Linked DNA regions of Homo sapiens: all the other regions are linked to region 2. The links are contacts of gene promoters, found by promoter capture Hi-C in human tissues and cell types (Jung and others, 2019). All regions are on one chromosome and are shown on one strand. The core of a region is centred on a gene start or on the middle of the fragment in contact, and the rest is flanking DNA. Distances in the headings are between cores, read along the strand shown.

Region 1 (3,690 bases), core at 731-3,230, 240 kb after region 2:
TAAGTAAAGGCACTGGCAGGCCTTATTTCAGGCTGAGGGTGACGACCACAACCGGGCGCATGCTGACCTCGCTTACGTGGCATCCCCTTTCGGCGGGCCTGCCATTGCTCTTGGGTCAGGGTAGGCGGGGAGAGTCCCCATGAGGTTGGCTGGACACCCTGGATGTCCCCTTTCCCAGAGTGACCGCTGGGCTCAGTGGGGTGTCACCCAGCCCCTGACCTCCACTCCTTTTCAGACAGAGCTGCTACACTATGTCACGTAGCAGGCAGTTTCTCAGTGGCCTCTTGAAGAGACATGTAAAGAAAGCTGGGGGGCGGGGAGCAAATGTGGGAAAGAGAATGAGGCGCTGCTGTCACTTGGCCACGTGGCGAGCCCGCAGGTCCCCGCGGGCGTTTTAGAGGATTGTCTTGGGGACGGTCGCACTTGCCATCCCTGTAGTCACTTGTCACTTTTCCTCCTTGACGTCTCTGAGGATCCTTCTGATTGGCTGTGGCTCAAGAACTGTTGGGCCCACCAAACGCGGCGTGAGCACGGAGTGGGTATTTGGAGGTTGAATGTGACTCCACCGTGCACTTTGCACGCCAAGTGGGGACTCCACAAATCTCTCTTGTGATGGCCTTTCCCAAAGGGAAGCTGCAGACAGCATCGGGTAGCGGGGTGAGCTTAGCATTTTTAGATAAAGCGATCGTTATTACGCAGTCCCCCCACATGCGTCTGTGTGTATTTTTGTTGTGTGTGGGGGCATTTTAGTAGAGGGAACCCTTTTCTCTTTGAAAGTGTAAGCCCTAAGCGTGGAGTGCACTGGCCACAGAAGCCCCCACACCCACCGGGGGCTCCACAGATCCCATTTGGGGCTCTTGGGACACAGACTGGAAACTGCTTGTTTAGAGGCAGAGGTGCCTCTTGGCCTCCAGCCTTGTCTTGGTCCACCCAGTGGCTTCTTGTTTGCTATGTAAGGAGGAGGCAGCAGCAGCCCCCTGTTTGTTTTGGAAAACCAGCCATGGCCCCACACTCTTTCCCATCTCCTCCAGGAGCAAACAACTCAGGTATGGTGGCTACAAGTCCTGTTTAAGATGAGTGGCTGTGAGCACAGGGCCCGTTCTCAGCAGAAACAGAGCCTTCTGTCTGTCTCGGGGGCTCCTTGCTGCTTAGATAAGGAGCAGAGGGTCTGTGTCTGTGGCTTTAAACCAGCCCAGCAAGTGGACCCTGAAGCACTTTACAAATCCTGCAAGGGCCGTGGGCGGCCTTTGGGCATCTGGGTCCTACCTGAGGCCAAGTAGGTCTTCTGTGTTGACCTGCGGTCACTTCTCTGCGGGTCAGAGGGTGCGCTTCTCCTGGCTAAGCGGCCTCGTTCCGCTTGACTTTTCTCCAGCTGGCTGCATTTCACCCACTGCTGAGCCTGTTTCCTGCGGAACGGCCTGTGAAGTCCTGTAGCCCTCAGCTTGCTATGAGTGGAACTCGCCTGGGGCTGCCCCAGGGACTGCTTCCGTGGGGCTGGGGGAATTCGAGGCTTCTCAAAGCCCCCCGAGGAGATTCCAGTGCTTAGCCACAGTAGAGCATTACTGATGTAGTTTTCTAAACTGGACGATTAGCAGAATTCATGAGAGAAAAGTTTATTCAGAAACTCAAGTCGCCATTCTTTGCTTTCACGTGCCGTGATGGGATTATCATCGGGAGCATGTTAGGCATCTGCACTCAGCCTTGTCATCTTCATTCCAGAGCACCTGACTATGTGGCCACATGTGAATATCTTCATCAGAGACCCGCTCTCCATGCCAGAGTCCTAGCTGTGAAGCCGGGCTTCCTGGGGCACGTAGACGCTGGGCTGCCCCCAAGGCCACCCACTGGGTGCCCACACTGGGCTGCACTCGGTGCCACCTGCCACCCGGTTTCCAAATGTCTGTTTTCCACTGGAAGAGAATTCTAAATATTCTAAATATCAAGGGGCAGGGGAATGTGGAATACATTACCATTTTCTTTTTTTTTTTTAATTAAACTACATTTTTAGTCCAACTTATAACAGGTTATAGTGAGATAAGTACCACAAAGCCTGTTTGATTTTGTGAAAGGTCTGAGATACCTAGAAGCATTTCTTTGTAAGACCTTGAACCTCATAGCTCACTCATGAAGAATATTTTTATTTTATTTTCATTCTTTTTTGAGACAGGGTCTTGCCCGGGCTGAAGGACAGCCGCACAATCACAGCTCACTGCAGCCTCCACCTCCTGGGCTCAGGTGATCCTCCTGCCTCAGCCTCCAGAGCAGCTAGGACTACAAGCGCATACCACCACATTCCACTATTTTTTTTTAGGTCTTACTGTGTGGCCCAGGCTAAGATTATTTTTATGTTATCCTTGCTCTGACTTGAAATCCCACTCTAGGTTGGGGAATCACTCTTCTTTGCTTTAATGAATGTACACTTTGTCCTTTAGGAACGTCTAGACAATCAGAATTCATAAATATCAGAATAGGTGTATTTTAAAATAATGTTGGTGTATTTTAAAATAATGTTATTTCTGGTCATATATGGCCATTGTGAACTCCTAAAAAATGCAGGATCATGTAAAGAATTTCTTATTAGCATTTCGATAAAAATTACACATAATTCCACCACTCGCTGACAACCATTGTTGGCTTAGATTTTAGCTTCTTTCTTTCTAGAAATAGATCCTATAGTTGCCTAGTTACATACGTAGATATTTAAACATTCTTTGAGGTTATAATGACATGCAGTTTTGAATGATGTGTTATTTAATGTGTCATAAGCATTTTCCGTCATTAAAATCTCCCAACCTTTTTTTTACAAGATGTCATTCGTATGGATGTATTTGAATTTTCTATTTTTTCTCAATGATGATGTGACATCCATTTTACTTTATAAGTATCTTTTTACTTTTCAAATTATTTTTTGCCAATAGATTCCTAGAATTTCTGGATCAGAGGATCTGTGTACCTAGCCGTTCATGAAAATGCATGAATGCTAATCATTCTAACACAGTGGCCAGGTGGGAATGTCACCCAGGATGTCTCCAAGGCAGTGGAAGAGAGAGCCGCCAGGCACCCTCGTCATTAGGAAGCCTGGCCCCACTTCACCCAGACTGCCCGGCTGGTAACACCTTTCCTTTTTGTTCCCAATGGATTTGCCTCCAGGACCCAGAGATGCAGTGCCTGCTGCTCTCAGATGGGAAGGGCTCCATCCACCCGAACCACGTCGTCATTCTCCCCGGGGACGGTGGGAGTGGCACGGCCGCCATCAGCTTCACAGGGGCCTTGAAAATTCCAGTAAGTAAACGTGCCCAGGAGGAGTTTCAGAAAGGGCTGCTGTGCTGGCTGTGGGAAGTCTGGTCGGTTGATGATTAAGCTTAAAAAGACATCTGTGGTTGTAGAACCCGGGGATTCGAATCCATAGCCAAAGCTAGACGCTGCACAGTGCTAGCTTCAGGACTGAATATGGCTGCAGTGATATTTGTTCGCCTCATACCATGTTTAAATTTTTTTTGAAATTCGTTTTCTCCATTTAGAAATTCAGGTTCATAGAAAAATGGGGCTCCCTGCCTTCACTGGAAAAACGGAAAGCCTGGCACCCTGGGCCTGCCCCCATGTGACAGGTTGGGGAACTGAGGCCCTGACTACTGTGCCACCTGGCCCCTGTGGCCCGGCCCCTCCCCAGTGCACTTGCCCTCCCACAGG
Region 2 (4,156 bases), core at 140-2,639:
GAAAACCGTGACAGGAGAGGCACACGCCATAGAGATCATTGCAACGCATGCTGCCTGCTTTTCACTTTTTTCTGCATCTCCCCTTCCTGAATTGTTGAGCATGTCCCACCCTCCCGGGACATCCTTCAGTCCCCAATATTTTCATGTTTCAGGCAAGCCTCTATGTCTGTATGTGCAGCAGAAGTTCACTGCGTTTCATTAACGAACTGAGTATTTCCTTAGGAAAATGGCAATCACGTGCAGTGTCTTACATTCCCTTCTCTTGCTCCCAGTCCGTAATTGCTTATCCTCCTGGCATCCAAACTTCGCTCACACTGGAATCAGCTGCAGAGCTTTAAAAATGACTGACGTTGGCTGGGCATGGTGGCTTACACCTGTAATTCCAGCACTTTGGGAGGCCAAGGCAGGAGGATCACTTGAGGCCAGGAGTTTGAGACCAGCTTGGCCAACATAGCGAAACTCCATCTCTACTAAAAATCCAAAAAATTAGCTGGGCATGGTGGTGCATGCCTGTAATCCCAGCTACTTGAAGCCGAGGCACAAGAATTGCTTGAACCCAGGAGGCGGAGGTTGCAGTGAGCTGAGATTGTGCCACTGCACTCCAGCAGTGAGTGACAAAGCAAGGCTATCTCAAAACAAAACAGCTGAGGCCTGGATCTTGCCTGGAGATGCCCTGATGTAACTGGTGTGCCCCAAGCATTAGGATTTTTAAAGCTCTCCAGGTGATTCTAATGGGCTGCAAGTTCGGGAACCACTGCCTTTGACCCTGCTCAGAAGACACCCAGATAAAAGCCATGCCCTCATTCCTTCAAACTTGGGTTAATGGAGCAGCCACACCCCATGGCAGGGTTGCTATGCAATGGCTAAATGAACCTTGTGCCTGCCGGTATTGACAGTGTTCTGAAGTCAGGGTTTTTCTCCTGCATCTTTCCTTTTTCTTTGTAAATGTGGAACAATGCATAAAGACCTATATTGTAATTTAGAAATCTCCAGCAAAGATGGCTATGGGGTCATAGGGGATGGGCTCAGGCTCAAACCCTGATTTCAACACAGACTGGGCAGGGCTGCCTTGGATAAGTTGTTAACTTTCTCTGAGCCTCGGTTTCCTTGTCTGTGAAATGGGGACAATAAAGACCCACTTCAAAGGGCTAGCGCAGGAAAAAGTGTATATGTGACAGGTGGCCATTATTAAATGAATGCAGAATCCCCCCTTATCCTGGATCCCTTCCCTTCACGCCCACCCTGCCACCGGGGCAGTCAGGGCAGTACTCACACAGGCCCACGTACTCCTCAGCAGAGCTGGAGGACAGCAAGGCCAGGACCAGCCCCAGCATGCAGAGCGCTCTGGCAGCCATGACCACCGTGGGCTCCGGGACGCAGCTCAGGACTCGCTTCATGGTCCAGGAGGCCTCATTTATGCACCGTTGTTTGCACAGCTGCTCTGGATTGTTTGCTTGGGGAAGGCTCTCCCTCCTGGCTGTGGCTGCTCCTGTTCTCTCCTGCATGCCTTTGTCAAGCTCCCAGACAGTTTTTCTCTCCCAAAGGGGAGAGGTCAGTTCAGCCCCCACTGTTTTGGCAGCAAGCGGTAAGGGCGGATTCCAGTTCTGGTTCCGGGTCCTCTACTGGGGAGCGGATGTGTGTCAATTGCCCTCCTAGCCTGGCCTGGTGTAGTGTGCAGGAGCCATGTGGGGTGGCAGGACCAGGGTGTGGTGTCCGTTCCATCTCAGCCTCCCAGCCAGAAGCCCTCAGAACACCCCTGGTCCCATGACAAGAGAGCCCCAGGCTGCTTCATCCCAGATCGGCCTCGGAGACAGGCAGCTCTGAGTGAGTCAGGACCCTGCGGCTCTCTCACAACTCCTGAAACACAGAGATTCCTTGTCTTTCCTTTTTGCTTTCTCCCCTAAAAATTAGTAACTACATTTTAATAAGTGGATGAAATGAATTGATTGAAAATATGTTAGTAAAAACATGGTACACATAATTGATTTTTAAAATCAAATAATACAAAAGAGCCTTTCCTATCCAGAGGCATCTATTGATCTATTGTGAACACTTTTTTAGGTATCCTTTCAGAATTTTTCTCTCTGGATCTAAGCACGTTTTTTTGGTTTGTTTTTGTTTGTTTGTTTGTTTTGTTTTTTTTTTGTTTTTTTTTTGTTTTTTTTTTTTGGAGACAGGGTCTTGCTCTGTTACCCAGGCTGGAGTGCAGTGGCACAATCTCAACTCACTGAGACCCCCGCCCTCGCGGGGCTCAAGTGATCCTCCCACCTCAGCCTCCTAAGTAGCTGGGCCACAGGCATGTGTCCAGCTAATATTTTGTATTTTTTTAGAGACCAGGTGTCGCCATGTTGGCCAGGCTGGTCTCAGACTCCTGGACTCAAGTGATCTGCCTTCCTTGGCCTCCCAAAGTGTCAGGATTACAGGCATGAGCCACTGCACTCGGCCACATTTTTAACACAAACAGGAACTGACTCTCCACCTTTGCCCAGCGTGCTCTTTTAAAAACTAAAGACTACATCTCAGGAATTGTTTTATAACAACATATCAGATGAGACAGCGATGATTCTATCCATTTTCCAGAGGAAGAAACTAAGACTCAACATTTCCGGTGCCTATCAGAGGTTACTCCAGTGTCCCTGGTATAGCTGGTATTTAACCCACTCCCAGGACCCTAAGCCTCCGCCCTCGGCATCCGCAGCATCCCCCAACCCCCCAACCTCCTGCAGTGGACTGGCTGGTAGTGGGCAAGAGACTAATCTCATTCCAGGAAAACGGGCCCCTAGATTTTGTGTTCTCCGTGTTTCTTTTCCAGGGAGGCATTTTGATGACCCCCACTGGCCCTTCCAGGAGCCTCTGTCTGAAGGGTGGACTTGGTTTATCACCCCGAGAAATGGGAGCGCCTGGCTGCTTGGATTTAGCCTGCAGCTGGGGTCCCCGGTGGTGTGTGCAGGGCGGCCTTGAGCCTCCAAGGGTGCATCCACAAACTGCCCTTCCCCGAGTGACCCATGGGAGCTCGATGGCGTACGTGCTGAGCACCAGGATGTGTCCTGCCCTGTGACTCCCAGGCCCCGCCCTTGCGCTCAGCACGCCCTTTGTGGATGGATTTGAGGGCCCCTGGCCTCTGATGTGCCACTCCCGCTGAGGCCAGCGAAGGAGGAAGAAGGAAAGAGCGTTGCCTGCCTTGTTTTCGGGGCACTCACTTTTTCTGGGAGACAGCGGACCCAGGTTCATCAATGGACAGCAGGATTTTCATGTTATTAAAAAGGTCATTGTAGGGGAAATCCCTGGGGGATCTGGTGAGATCTCCCTGGGGGATCTGGTGAGATCTCCCTGCCTTCCCACTGCTCCTAGTACCCAGAGGCCAGGCCAGGTCGTGGTGCAGGGCTGAGTTCCAGGAGGGTGCAAACACCCCAGGAACAGACTGCTGCCCCTCCGGCCCTCATGACCTGCTGGGGAAGGACCCCCGCAAGGAGCTTCTGCAGGTGCTGTGGTCTCCACCTGCTGCACTCAAAATTGCCTGGAGTGGGGAGAATATCAATGCCTGGGCCCCGCCCTGACAGGTGGTTCTGTCGCCTGTGATTCTTCTCTGCGGCCAGCACCGAGAACCCTGCTGGGGTTTGCTTCCGTTTAACTAGTGAATGTTGACTGAGCTCCTACTGCCTACACCCAGGGTTTAGGGCTGGGGAAGGAATAACAAAGGTGACACATTCTTGTCCTTGAAGAGTCCCCCCGCAAAGGGAGACGGGATCATGTCAGAGTTAAGATGGTGAAGCCAAGACTAGGTTCTGTGCTGCCTGACCTTGGGCAAGTCACGTCCCATCTGTACCTCAGTTTCCCTACATGTCACAGGGTGCTCACCCCACAGGACAGCATGAAGTGGTGCTGCACAGCCCAGCCAGGTGCCTGGGACACACACTGACCACCTGCCGGGTGTGCTGGATCAACCATGATGGCAGAGGAGAGGATTCCTGGTCCCGGCTCTGGTAGGAGCAAAGGCTGTGGCAAGGGGGCCAGAGCTGGGTCCTGTCAGGTGGAGACGCACAGGCTTCTCAGAGAAGGGGGATTTGGGCTGCACCTCTGGAGAGGTCAATGGGGAGGCCCGTGTGTGTCCCCTCTCTCTGTTCTAGGAGCCCCCTCCCCAGGAGCCCTGGGCTCT
Region 3 (4,153 bases), core at 1,164-3,663, 130 kb before region 2:
CTTTATCCAGTCTATCATTGATGGGCATTTGGGTTGGTTCCAAGTCTTTGCTATTGTAAATAGTGCTGCAGTAAACATATGTGTGCATGTGTCTTCATAGTAAAATGATTTATAATCCTTTGGGTATATACCCAGTAATGGGATTGCTGGGTCAAATGGTATTTCTGGTTCTAGATCCTTGAGGAATAGCCGCACTGTCTTCCACAGTGGTCGAACTAATTTACACTCCCACCAACAGTATAAAAGCATTCCTATTTCTCCACAGCCTCACCAGCATCTATCGTTTCCTGACTTTTTAATAATTGACATTCTGACTGGCGTGAGATGGTATCTCATTGTGGTTTTGATTTGCATTTCTCCAATGACCAGTGATGATGAGCTTTTTTTCATATGTTTGTTGGCTGCACAAATGTCTTCTTTTGAGAAGTGTCTGTTCATATCCTTTGCCCACTTTTTGATGGGGTTTTTTTTCCTTGTAAATTTGTTTAAGTTCCTTGTAGATTCTGGATATTAGACCTTTGTCAGATGGATAGATTGCAAAAATTTTCTCCCATTCTGTAGGTTGCCTGTTCACTCTGATGGTAGTTTCTTTTGCTGTGCAGAAACTCTTTAGTTTAATTAGGTCCCATTTGTCAATTTTGGCTTTTGTTGCCATTGCTTTTGGTGTTTTAGACATGAAGTCCTTGCCCATGCCTATGTCCTGAATAGTAATGCCTAGGTTTTCTTCTAGGGTTTTTATGGTTTTAGGTTTTACATTTAAGTCTTTAATCCATCTTGAGTTAATTTTTGTATTATTTTCTAACTTCAACATAGTTTCTTTTTTGACCCATGAGTGAGTTAGTGTATTTATTAATTCCTAAACATGTGCTCCCTCTCCCCAGTTATCTTTTGTGTTTAATTATTAATTGTGGATAAATAATAAAATGTTCATGAAACCAAATTTTTAACATTTTTTGGGTTTTGCTCTGTGTCCTGGAATTAGGTAAATTTTTGTAAATGTTCTGCTTGTGCCTGAAACATGCCTGTGTTCTCTCATGTCACAGATGCGGCTGGTGTCACCTATGTCTCTGGGGCTCTGTCATTTTGGGATGTTCTGTATAACTCGCAACTAGCAGTGACTGCATCTCTGTGTTAGAAGGCATTTCTGGAAATACGGAAGGCAGGGCAGGCCAGAAGTACTTGGGAATTGACATTCCTAGGAAAAGCCATGAGACAGTGAGGATGAGAGCTGGGGAAAGGCCCTCTCCTGTCTACAGACATGTTTGTTTTACTGTCCTGGTGAACTGAAGCTTTGTCATTGAGTACTGACACTCTATTTATTGCTCATGGTTTTGCCTTACATTTATTTTTCTGATATTTACATGTATTCTTTGGTTAATGTTTTCTTGCTATTTCTCTTCTCTCTTTTTAGTTTTTTATATGGAAATGTCTAAACATAAAATAGAGAGCTTCGTGTAACAAACTACAATGATGCAGCTTCAAGAATCAGCAGAAAACCAACTTTTGTATTTTAAACCTGTTTTTAAAGAACTAAGTTGGCTTTTGAATTTTCTCTCTTGGAGATGTTTTTCAAAGAACCAGACCATTCATCCATTCTACCTATGTCTGATTTCTAACTCAGGGACTTCTACTTTTACCTATATTAATTCCTTCTTTTTACTTTTTTTTGCCAGGTATAAGGTTTGTTTTAAACTTCAATTATTCTACCCTTCATTTTCAAAATTTTTAATGTGATTCTCTTTTTATATCTTTTTTCTTTGTTTAATAATTTCTTCTGCTTCTTTTACATTTGAATAATTTCTTCAGTATTTCCGCCAGAATGTCCTATAAAATTAATTCTATTTGATGTGAATGCATGCTTCTAATGTTTCCAATGCTAGTTTTGGGGATCGGTCATTTGGGCTGGAATCCAGGTCTGCTGGCCCTGGTTTTCAGATAGCTCTTCACTCAGTTATGTGACTCCATGGCATTAAAAAAGGCTTTGAAAGGCCAGGTGCAGTGGCTCACGCCTGTAATCCCAGCACTTTGGGAGGCTGAGGTGGGCAGATCACTTGAGGCCAGGAGTTCGAGACCAGCCTGGCCAACATGGTGAAATCCTGTCTCTACTAAAAATACAAAAAATTAGCTGGGCGTGGTGACACGCACATGTAGTCCCAGCTACTCAGGAGGCTGAGGCAGGAGAATTGCTTGAACCCAGGAAGTGGAGGTTGCAGTGAGCTGAGATCACTCCACTGCACTCCAAGCTGGGTGATAGAATGAGACTCCATCTCAAAAAAAAGTGGGGGGAGCTTTGAAAGCCTCACAAATTAGGCAGACAACTGTAAAAACTTAAACAAACTATTATGAAGGCTTAGTAAGGTATTCAAAGCCAGTGGATTGTTAGACGTCTCCATGTGTTTTAGAATTGTGGTTTGCAAGCTCATGTTGCATGAGAACTTGAGTTTCTGTTTTTTTGTCCCCCAACCAAGGAGCAGCTCTGGGCCCCCTCTCTGCCAGCTCCCTCCCATCCCAAGGCTCACCTGGGCCAGCCTCCTTCTCCCTAGGGGCTGGGGCTTGTCTAGCAGAGTCTCAGCACTGCCATCTGTGAAACCCATCCCCTCCCTTGCCCACAGTGTCCTTGGCCAAGGAGCCCTAGCCCAGCCCAGCCCAGCCAGCGGCAGCAGCAGCTTTTTCTCAGTCACTTTCACCAGCAGGGCTGGCCTGACCCCTGCCCTGCTTTAAGCAGGGAGCTGTCTCCATCCCCACCTCACTCCTGACCCTCCAGCACCTGCCTCCAGCCCCAGAGCCCAGCCAGCCATCCTCAGCCATGGGCATCCCAAACCTGGCTTTGGGTATGGATTTGTTCTTCTAGGTTTTATGTTTGAGGCAGCACCATGTCCCCACACCACCCTGCCTATTCGTGAAGAGGTCTGGAGAGGTGGTGTGACTGCACAGCATCAGGGACTGGTCAGCTGAGGGATGAGGGCTGGAATCCAGGCCTGCCGGCCCGACTCTCAGGGCACACATCACTCTGGCAGGGGACTTCATGACATTAAACAAATTAGGCAGACAAGTGTAAAAACATACAAACTATTCTGAGACTGCTTAGTAGATAAGCTATTCAAAGCCAATGGTTTATTAGAAGAGGGAAAAATATATGTGTGTGTGTGGTGTAAGTGTGTCTGTGCGGTGTGTGTAGTGTGTGTATGTGGTGGGGTGTGTGTGTGGTGTGTTTGTGTGGTATATGTCTGGTGTGTGGTGTGGTGTATGTATGGGAGATGTGTGGTGTGTGATGTGTGGTGTGCATGTAGTGTGTATGTAGTGTCTGTATGGTGTGTGGTCCGGTGTGTGGATGTGGTGTGTGGTGTGTGTGATGTATGGTGTGTGGTACACTGTGTGCATGTGTGTGTGTGTGGTATGGTGTGTGTGATGTATGGTGTTGTGTGTGTGTGTGTGGTATGTGGTATATGTATATGTGATATGTGTGTGGTATGTGTATGAGGTGTGTGGTTGTGTGTGTGAGGTGTGTGGTGTAGTGTGATGTGGTGTGTGTCTGAGATGTGTGGTGTGGTGTGTGTAGTGTGTGTGTTGTGTGGCATGTGTGGTGGTGTGTGTGTGAGGTGTGTGGTGTGGTGTGTGTTTATGGTGTGTGTGTGTGAGGTAGGTGTTTTGTGTTGTATGTGTTGTGTGTGGTATATGATGTGGTGTGGCACGGTATGTGTGTGAGGTGTGTGGTGTATGTGGTTTGTGTGTGTGGTGTGTGGTTTGTGTGATGTGTGTGAGGTGTGTGGTGTGGTGTGTGTCGTTTGTATGTGTGATGTGTGTGGCGTGTGTGCACACATCTGTGTGGTGTGCGTGTAGTGAATGTGTGTTTGGGTATGTGTGTGTTGTGTGTGTATGGTGTGAGTGGTGTGTGGTGTGTATGTGTGGTGTGTGTGTGGTGTGTGGTGTATATGTGTGGTGTGTGTATGTGCCTGTGTGTGTGGTGTGCATGGGGTGAATGTGTGTTTGGGTATGTGTGGTGTGTGTGTGGTTTGTGTGTGTGGTGTATATGTGTGGGGTGTGTGTGTGGTGTATATATGGGGCATGTGTGTGGTGTGTGTAGTCTGTGTGCATGGCATGGGGTGTGGGTGTCTGTATAGAAAAATGAAGAGGAGCTCCCTGAGTTAACATA
Region 4 (3,709 bases), core at 418-2,917, 180 kb after region 2:
AAAATGACCCCAAATGTGATCTGAACCTAAAAATTATAGGCACTAAAAAGTTACAAATCAGTGGGGCCATTTGAGGAGACAAACTAGAAATCTTGCTGGTCAAGTGTTGCAGGTTGGGTTCACCTAGAAACAGACCCTGAACAAGTGATTTTTTTTTTTTTTTGAGACAGAGTCGCTCTGTTGCCCAGGCTGGAGTGCAGTGGCGTGATCTCGGCTCACTGCAACCTCTGCCTCCCGGGTTCAAGCCATTCTCCTGCCTCAGCCTCCCGAGTAGCTGGGATTACAGGTGCCCGCCACCATGCCCGGCTAATTTTTTGTATTTTAGTAGAGACAGGGTTTCACCGTGTTGCCCAGGCTGGTCTCAAACTCCTGAGCTCAGGCAATCTGCCCACCTCGGCCTCCCAAAGTGCTGGGATTACAGGTGTGAGCCACCGCGCCTGGCCTGATTTTTTTAAGTGCTCTCCTGGGAGAAAGTAGTAAAGAGGGCAGGGAAGTAGACATGAAAGGGCAGGCAGCTAAGGAAGGATGCCTTTGCAGGTGAAGTCCCAGACTTGGCCTAATCCAACAGGGACTCTGGGGGCATCAATCGCACTGCAGACTTTGTCCTGCTTCTTGCACTAGCTACTGGCTGTCTGGCCGGATGTGAATTTCAGGCACTTCTGGCTCTCCATACTGGGCAGGTAGTTCCAGCGCACAGAGGTGATAGCTTGAGTAGCAAATCAGGCGGAAGCTGGGAGATGAGTGCCCAGAGCTAGCAAAAAGGTCTGGGCAGGCACTGACAGCACCACTGCAGAGTCGCTAGATTTTTCAGTTAATTCTGAAAGTACCTCAACTCTGTACTGTGCATGCAGACCATAGTGGCTGAGGTTCCCTATCTGTCAGCCATGGAGAGGTCACTCTCTGGAGTAGGGAGGAACTACTCTCTGGGTGATAGAAATATTCCCACACAGAACCCAGCTCACAGGCTGGATGTGCCCTCTTTCTCCTCTCTGCTGCCTAACTCAGGAAATAACTCCAAAGACCTGGGTCAGTTCAGATGGGGACTGAAGAAAGCACATGTGAGGATACGCCTATAAGGTAATATCTTCAGGAACCCTCTCCTGAGCCCAGGGCCTCCTCAGCATTTCTTGGAGGCTGCCAGGAAGCAACTATCCTCCATGCATCTAAATGCCGGGGGAGCAAATCTCAGCTACAGAAATGACTTATTCAAGGGCAGTATGGCAGCGTGGGATGATCTGCTCATCCGAGAAAACTGCCTCGATGGGAATTAACACAGGGAGGAGGAAACTTCCAAAGCCTTCCGCTGGGAAATCTTTGCCTTTAATGGGAGGCAGGATGGGGGTGGGGGAAGAACGAGGCGGCATGTGGTAACCAGACGTCACAGCGTTTCACTTTTCACCATCAACTTCCAGGACGCACGCAGGTGTGTCTGGCGTGGCCTTCGTCCCTGCCGGGGATCCTGGGGAGCTGTGGCTCAGACCTCTGGTTTCTGCGCCTCCTCACTCTCCAAACCCAACCTCGAGGTTCCCCCGCCGCTGCGCACCCTGGGAAGCCCTTTCTCACCAGGAGCTCTCACCCCAATATCATTCTCTCCCTCCTCCTCCAACTCCTCCGAGCCCAGGTCCGACATGGTCTCGCCCCAGCCTGGATCACAGCCGCAGCGCCTCTAGCAGGTGGGTAGCAACCGCCTCCACCGCCGCGTCCCGCGTCGCCATGGAGACGCGGCCGGTCCCGCCTCCCTCCCAGCCCGGAAGATGGGGAGCGGGGACAGGCGACGCGGACGAAGCGGGAGGAGCCACTGGCAGCCTTTGCGTACTGTCATAGCAACGGGAAGGGCACCTCGACCAATCACCGCCCGGGAATACGGAGGGGCGGGGCGGAAGGGACGAGGTGGAGCCAGTGGCAGCACTCTGGTGCCGTCATAGCAACGAGGGGCCGCTTCGGCCAATCACTGCTCGGGAAGCGAGGGGGCGGGGACTGGGCAGGGCCTGAGCGGGTTCTGTGCCTGGCTGCCCACCGGCTCTCTGACCTGGACCTCGCCGTCGCTGGCCCCTGAAATCCATCACTTTTGTCGGCTGTTCTGTGACGCCACAACGAGGAGCCACCTGGGTACTGGGCCCTCAAGAGGAAGGACGCGGGAAACGCGTCCGGGCCAACTCTCGAGAGGGTTTCACCCCTGCCCAGTGCGGGCACTGCCCGCTCCCTTCCGCCCCCAGGCCTCGCAGGCCCCTCCGGGGATGCTGCCCACCCCCACTTACCTTTCTAGGCTCTGCTGACCCTTCGGGATTCGCGGCTAGCTGTGATGTGTCCGCCAAGATCTCTTCTCTTGTCTGTAAACAACTTCACTCTCAAGGAGGCAGCTCTGGCCTCTCAGCAGGTGCGGCCTACAGTGATGTCCGTCCGGGTTTTACATCCTTCCCCGACCTCGACATGAGTCCCAGCCCCCTCGGGCCTCTGACTCTCAGGTGTCCCCTACGATCGCCGTCCTCTCCTCTCGCTCCTGGCTCCCCTACACTGTCACACACCCACACAATCACAGACGCACACGCATGTACACGTGCAGGCTTGGAAATCTGCTTTACCTGACGCACTCCGCCTGCCGAAGGCCCCTCACATCTCCCATTTCCTCTGCCATCATCCCAGACTGCAAAGCTGTGTTATTTGTTGTTGCTGCAGGAGCTGGGGAGGAGTGACTGAATAACTATAGGATTTGGTCTTGATGGGAGAATCCCAGAAGCCAAATCCACGCGGTGAATAAGCTGCTGATCTTCCAGAGCACACATCCCCTAGAGATTCTTCCCAATGCTAATATGAAAGGTTACAACCATAACCCATCATCAGGCCCAAATATATTACTTACTGAATAAATACACAAGTTACAACAACACACGAGATTCCAAAATTATGTCGTTTTTTAGATGCAAAGATAAAAATGTTGTAAACACCAAAATTTAACAGCTTTTCTTATGGGGAAAAGTGGGGAGTTAGGGATAACAGATGATTATTATTTTCTTCTCTACATATTGGCAGTTACCCAGTTACTACAATTAAGCATGTCCTATTTTTATAATAAAATGCCAGAAGCATTTTAAATGTTAGAAATCTAGAATGGTAACATAAGTATATGCAAATAAATACTCGTTTTTTACATTTAAAATGTCAGAAATTTAGCTTTCAAATTTGTCCTAACAATGACAGTAACCAGTGTTTACTAAGTTCTGACACTGTGTGTGGGCACTGTTTTAAGAATTTTATGAGTTATCTTATTAAATCCTCACTATCATTCCTCCATTGAACATCTAAGGAAAGGGAGTTATAGGGGGTTATAAACTAAAAATAACCTCCTAAGCCCCACCACAGCCAACTGAATGGACCCCTCTTGGCCAAGAGGGCCCCAGAAACCTTAAAAACTGCGTTCTCAGCCATGATGGGAAGGGAGGTCGAACATGCCTCACTAATACCCTTGTGCAGTTTAGACACAACAACTAACAAGCATTAATGTTAAAATAGAGATCATAAGACTGACAGAATGGACGCTGTGGCAGTAAGATACCAACTTACAAACAGGACCTAAGGCCATGCCAGGCATGAGTTAAGTCATGCATCCCTACACTTAAAAGAATAAACTATATTTTAACTACCTGGAGAAGGTCTTATGACTCGTGTTTTACATCCTGTACTTGAGCAAACAATCTTACTGTGAATCTCT
Region 5 (4,138 bases), core at 1,188-3,687, 200 kb after region 2:
ATTTCCACGCTATGGAGTGCTAGTCTTCATGATTGTGCCCCTTGACATGACACAATAGGAATAGAAGCCGGGAGGCCAAGCAAAGGCCCTCTTTGGGGGTGGGGGCGCGGCGGCATGTGACCCTCGCCGCCTGTGGGGAAGACCTGCCTTGAGGACAGAGCGCCAGGGGTGCAGAGGCCGCCTGGGACTGCCCGGAGGCCGGTGGGGAGCGCGCCAGCGAAAGCCCGTGCGCCCTCGGAGCCGGGGAAGGCGCGGGCCATGACCCGGGTTCGCCCGCAAAGGCCGGGCAGTGCCGCAAGGCGTGGGGGCGCCCCCGCCCGGTGGCCCCGGGGCTGGTGCGACCCTGGGCACGCCGGGGCCGGGGCCGGAGCCGGGGGTCGCGGCGGCCGGGGAGGGGGAGGAGCCGCGCGGCTCCGCCGGCGCCCCGCGGGCCAGGGAAAGTGAAAGGGCGGCGGGGCCTCCCGCGCGCCGCTCCAGGAAGTCGCGAGCAGGAAGCGCCCGCGGCGGCCGGGCCGGGCTGGGCTGCGGAGCGCGGGCCTCGGCGGCGCAGGTGAGGCGCGGGGCCGGGGCCGGACCGGGAGGCGGGGACCCCCCGCCCCCCCGCCCGCACCTGCGGGGCAGCCGGCGCTCAGGCGCCGCAGCCGCTCAGCACCTGCGGCGCCCTCAGGGAGCCGGGCGCGGGGCCCTGCGCACTCGGAGCTCGGCTCCTCTCCTTCCTTTTCTTTTTTTTCGGGGGGAGGTGGGGGCTGGTTTGGATGTTTTCCGAGAGCCGGGGACGGTCTCAAGCTATTTTCGCGGAGGGAAGTCTTTGAAATACGACATCTAGAAGAGTGGCCCTCGGCGACAATGCCGGGCGTTCCCGGACCGGGGCAACGCTGGGATTCCGGGGAAGTGGAGGCAGAGGGAGCGGGCACGGGGCCGGCAGCCGCTCCACGGAGTCCCCGGCAGGGGCGAGCTTAGCTGTCCAGCCGGGTCCCCTGCCCACCCCGGCCCGGGCCGCGGTGACAGCTGAGGGTCCAGAGAGCCGGCAGGAGGGGACCCTGCGCATTGTCTGCCGCGATGGGGACGTGGGCGTGCCCGCGGAATTCACCTCCTCCGGGGACCAGCCGCCCAGGGAGGAGCCGGCACAGAACGCTGGCTCGGAGCGCCGGCACCCTGGGCCTTTGCGTTGTTTGTCGGCTGAGCAGCTGGTTCCCGGAGCCCGTGGGCCTCCTGGCCAATGCGAGTGACAGCGACCTTCTGGGTTTATAATAAAGGGCTTGACGCGCCGGAAAGTCCCCTCGCCGCTGGCCACCAGCCTTCCAGCCCTTACGGCCCACGCCGTAATCCTGGTGACCGAGAAGGTACGTTCAGTCTAAGGATTTGCATTTGAACGAAGGATACTGGCCAAGCCCCTTACCACCCCCACTCCCCGCTAACACCCCAGCCCGCGGCCCCAGGTTTGAATTTCCAAAGGAGGAATTGCTAAAGCCTGCCCTTTCCGGGTCTCCCTTAGCTCTTTGCCTGGAAGGTGCCTGCCTGCCTGCCTGCCGGCCCTTGAACTTAAATCGTCTGAAGTTGTGTAAGTGGATAAATATTTTAGACTTCCCCCGTTGTTTTTTTATTAATCCCCTTTGAGAGCAAGCTTGAAAACACCTGGCCCCAGACCTGTGATTCACCAAGTCATTTTGGACCTGCATTTACACGTTCTGTTTCATGCAGCCCACCTGTGATGTTCTCTTTGTTGGGGGTTGGAGGCAGGTAAGGGAGGTGGTGCAAATGGAATTCAGGTTCCTTGTACTTCAGCCAAGGGGAAAGAGATAGTGACCATTTTCATTCATCTTTAATATGGAAAGCGCCTTTAAAAGCAAAAAGCCATAGAAAGAGCACACTCTGGACAGGAAGTTGTATTCTATCTCGTAATTTAAAAAAAAGAAAAGAAAAAATGCATGAAAACTTTTGGAGGAGAATTGCATTTCTCACCCATCTTTGCCTGTAAAGTGAGACCCAGTTAAAAAAAAATGTCATAAAGTAGATTATTTAAAATATCTGTGGGGCCGCTTTGATTATGTGTAATGCCACCTCAGCCCTAAAAAGACTGAGGAACCTTACTCCTGCTATTGCTCACTTCCTATCCCCATTATTTGAGTCTCTGCAGATTACTTGGAACCTTCTAGGCAGCGCAGATCACATGTGGGTGGGTCTGGGAGTGGAGCTTGTGAATGTTTCTTTCCTCAGCTTATTCTGTTTTACAGTTGCCTAGGGTGGGTTTTTTGAAGAAATAGGTATAAAACCATGTGTCTTTCAGAGTCTGTTTGTTTTTTTAACTTTTAGTTTCAGGGGTACATGTGCAGGTTTTACAGGTTGTAATAAAGATGCTCTAATGGGCTGTTTCCTAAGTTACTATCTTTTTATATTTTTTTAAGACAGGGTCTCGCTCTGTCGCCCAGGCTGGAGTGTAGTGGTGCAATCTCAGCTCACTGCAACCTCCGCTTCCCAGGTTCAAGTGATTTTCATGCCTCAGCCACCCGAGTAGCTGGAATTACAGGTGTGCACCACCACGCCCAGCTCTTTTGTGTATTTTTGGTAGAGATGGGATTTTGCCATATTGGCCATGCTGGTCTCGAACTCCTGGCCTCAAGTGATCTGCCTGCCTCTGCCTCCCAAAGTGCTGGGATTGCAGGCATGAGCCACCATGCCTGGCCTAAGTTGCTGTGTTTGACAGTGCAATGAAACTGGACATTCTGCCGCTTTTCCTCCCTGGAATGGTAAGTTCCAGGGGGGCCTGTAGAGAGTGACTTTTTAAAAAAGTATCTCTTCTTTTTATGTACTTGGGCAGTGTGCCAAAAACTGGGTTTAAACCAAGTGATTTGCTCCCATTCTGCTGCCCTTTCTCTGCAGGGGATGGGCAGGAAGAAGAGTGGCTGGAGGGAGGAGGTGGCTCAGAGAAACAGGACAAACTGGAATCTGCCCCACTTATCCAGCTGACCCAGGCGAGCCGCCTAGCCTCATTTTTCTCCCTTGTGAAAAGAACGCCCTGCCTCTTCAGGGTGGTCACGGGGCTCAAATGAGAGCATGTCAGTCATGGTTCGTGCTTCCAGAGGTCTTGACCCACTCAAAATGAAGTGGTCTTTAGTGGTGCTGCACAGGCTAGGGAGGAAGGGCCTCATTAGTTGAGCTCTTAACATCCCAAATGTAAAATCACTGTCTTTGCACATCTTAACTGCACTCACTATGAGAATTTATAGCACTTTTCTTTCACCCATTTTACAGGGAAAAGAATCCATCATTGTTTTAAAAAGAAATCAAAGAGGTTTTTTTTCCCTTCTTGATTTGTCAGTGCCTTCTGGGCCTTTGATGTTGTTGTCACAGGTTTTATCAGAGTTGGAGGTTTTTGATTTATTTAGTAGATGGCAATGGAATGTTTCCAGACACGCTGGACATGGAGAAGCAGCACTTGAGAGGAAGACGTTTGCTTCTGACCATCCGTTTCCAGACACTGTTGAACCAAATTCTTTACTCTGAAGTTGTCATCACAAAGTCATTTCCCAGAGTAGATCCAGACCCATTCTGGAGCCCACCCATTTTGAGCAAAATATTGCTTAAATCTAGAGGTTTGAGCAGACGTGGTTTTGAAGTATTTGTGGCTGTTCATTCAACGTGAGTTTCTTGAGCACGTGGTCTGTGCTAGGTTCTGGACAAGGAGATGGAAGTAGGACCTTGCCCTGCAGTCCCGGGCCTTCCTCTTTTGAATTTACAATGAGGATAATATCAGCTAGTGTTTGTTGCGCATTTACTACGTACCAGGCCACTTATCAAGTGCTTCCCATAGGTTATCTCATTGCATGTTTATAACAACATGGATGCTATCATCCCCATTGTTTAGCCTTGAAGGAGAGGGAGCAGAAAGGTTAAGTGACTTGCCTCGGCTTACACAGCCCAGGGTCAGCCTTGGAAGGAGGAGGTATTGGAGTGGGGTGAATCCCACCTATTCAGGCCCTGTAGGACCTAGGAGAAAGGTGTAGTTCTGGCTGGAGCAGATAGAAGAGATGAGGGGCGGCTCCTGGGACGAAAGCTCAGCAGGGATTTTGAATCTTTTTGTAAAAGGTGGTATAAGGGAAAAATCCTTGGAGAATGTGCATTTTTGGAAGCTCACTTT

The links. Contacts are between HindIII fragments. The study calls those that stand out against the background at their distance.
Region 1: a contact is called between a fragment that was not itself captured here and the fragment with the promoter of TFF3 in region 2, in 1 of the 25 tissues and cell types used here (lymphoblastoid cells).
Region 3: a fragment that was not itself captured here is called in contact with the fragment with the promoter of TFF3 in region 2 in 2 of the 25 tissues and cell types used here (heart right ventricle and small bowel).
Region 4: the fragment with the promoter of RSPH1 here is called in contact with the fragment with the promoter of TFF3 in region 2 in 4 of the 25 tissues and cell types used here (dorsolateral prefrontal cortex, lymphoblastoid cells, spleen and 1 more).
Region 5: a fragment that was not itself captured here is called in contact with the fragment with the promoter of TFF3 in region 2 in 1 of the 25 tissues and cell types used here (lymphoblastoid cells).

What each region holds. Positions count from the first base shown.
Region 1 is chr21:42,555,808-42,559,497 of GRCh38, forward strand. SLC37A1 (solute carrier family 37 member 1) reads left to right here. Exons shown (of 20, transcript NM_001320537.2): 11 at 3,151-3,282. Among named protein-coding and RNA genes, the nearest start is that of SLC37A1, 44 kb to the left of the region's middle. The HindIII fragment of the contact is 7,302 bases long and covers 1-3,690 here.
Region 2 is chr21:42,314,020-42,318,175 of GRCh38, forward strand. TFF3 (trefoil factor 3) reads right to left here and starts at 1,390. Exons shown (of 3, transcript NM_003226.4): 1 at 1,274-1,390. The coding sequence starts at 1,355. RefSeq lists enhancers at 2,490-3,109, 3,110-3,728. The HindIII fragment of the contact is 18,141 bases long and covers 1-4,156 here.
Region 3 is chr21:42,180,247-42,184,399 of GRCh38, forward strand. No RefSeq gene overlaps it. Among named protein-coding and RNA genes, the nearest start is that of ABCG1, 37 kb to the right of the region's middle. The HindIII fragment of the contact is 4,033 bases long and covers 398-4,153 here.
Region 4 is chr21:42,494,557-42,498,265 of GRCh38, forward strand. RSPH1 (radial spoke head component 1) reads right to left here and starts at 1,668. Exons shown (of 9, transcript NM_080860.4): 1 at 1,577-1,668. The coding sequence starts at 1,630. It overlaps RSPH1-DT (RSPH1 divergent transcript), which reads left to right and starts at 1,983. Exons shown (of 3, transcript NR_135518.1): 1 at 1,983-2,109; 2 at 2,267-2,377; 3 at 2,677-2,887. RefSeq lists silencers at 1,625-1,744, 1,775-2,014. The HindIII fragment of the contact is 9,831 bases long and covers 1-3,709 here.
Region 5 is chr21:42,513,375-42,517,512 of GRCh38, forward strand. SLC37A1 (solute carrier family 37 member 1) reads left to right here and starts at 478. Exons shown (of 20, transcript NM_001320537.2): 1 at 478-1,343. RefSeq lists enhancers at 1-327, 1,169-1,398 and silencers at 239-598, 819-898, 909-1,008. The HindIII fragment of the contact is 7,381 bases long and covers 1-4,138 here.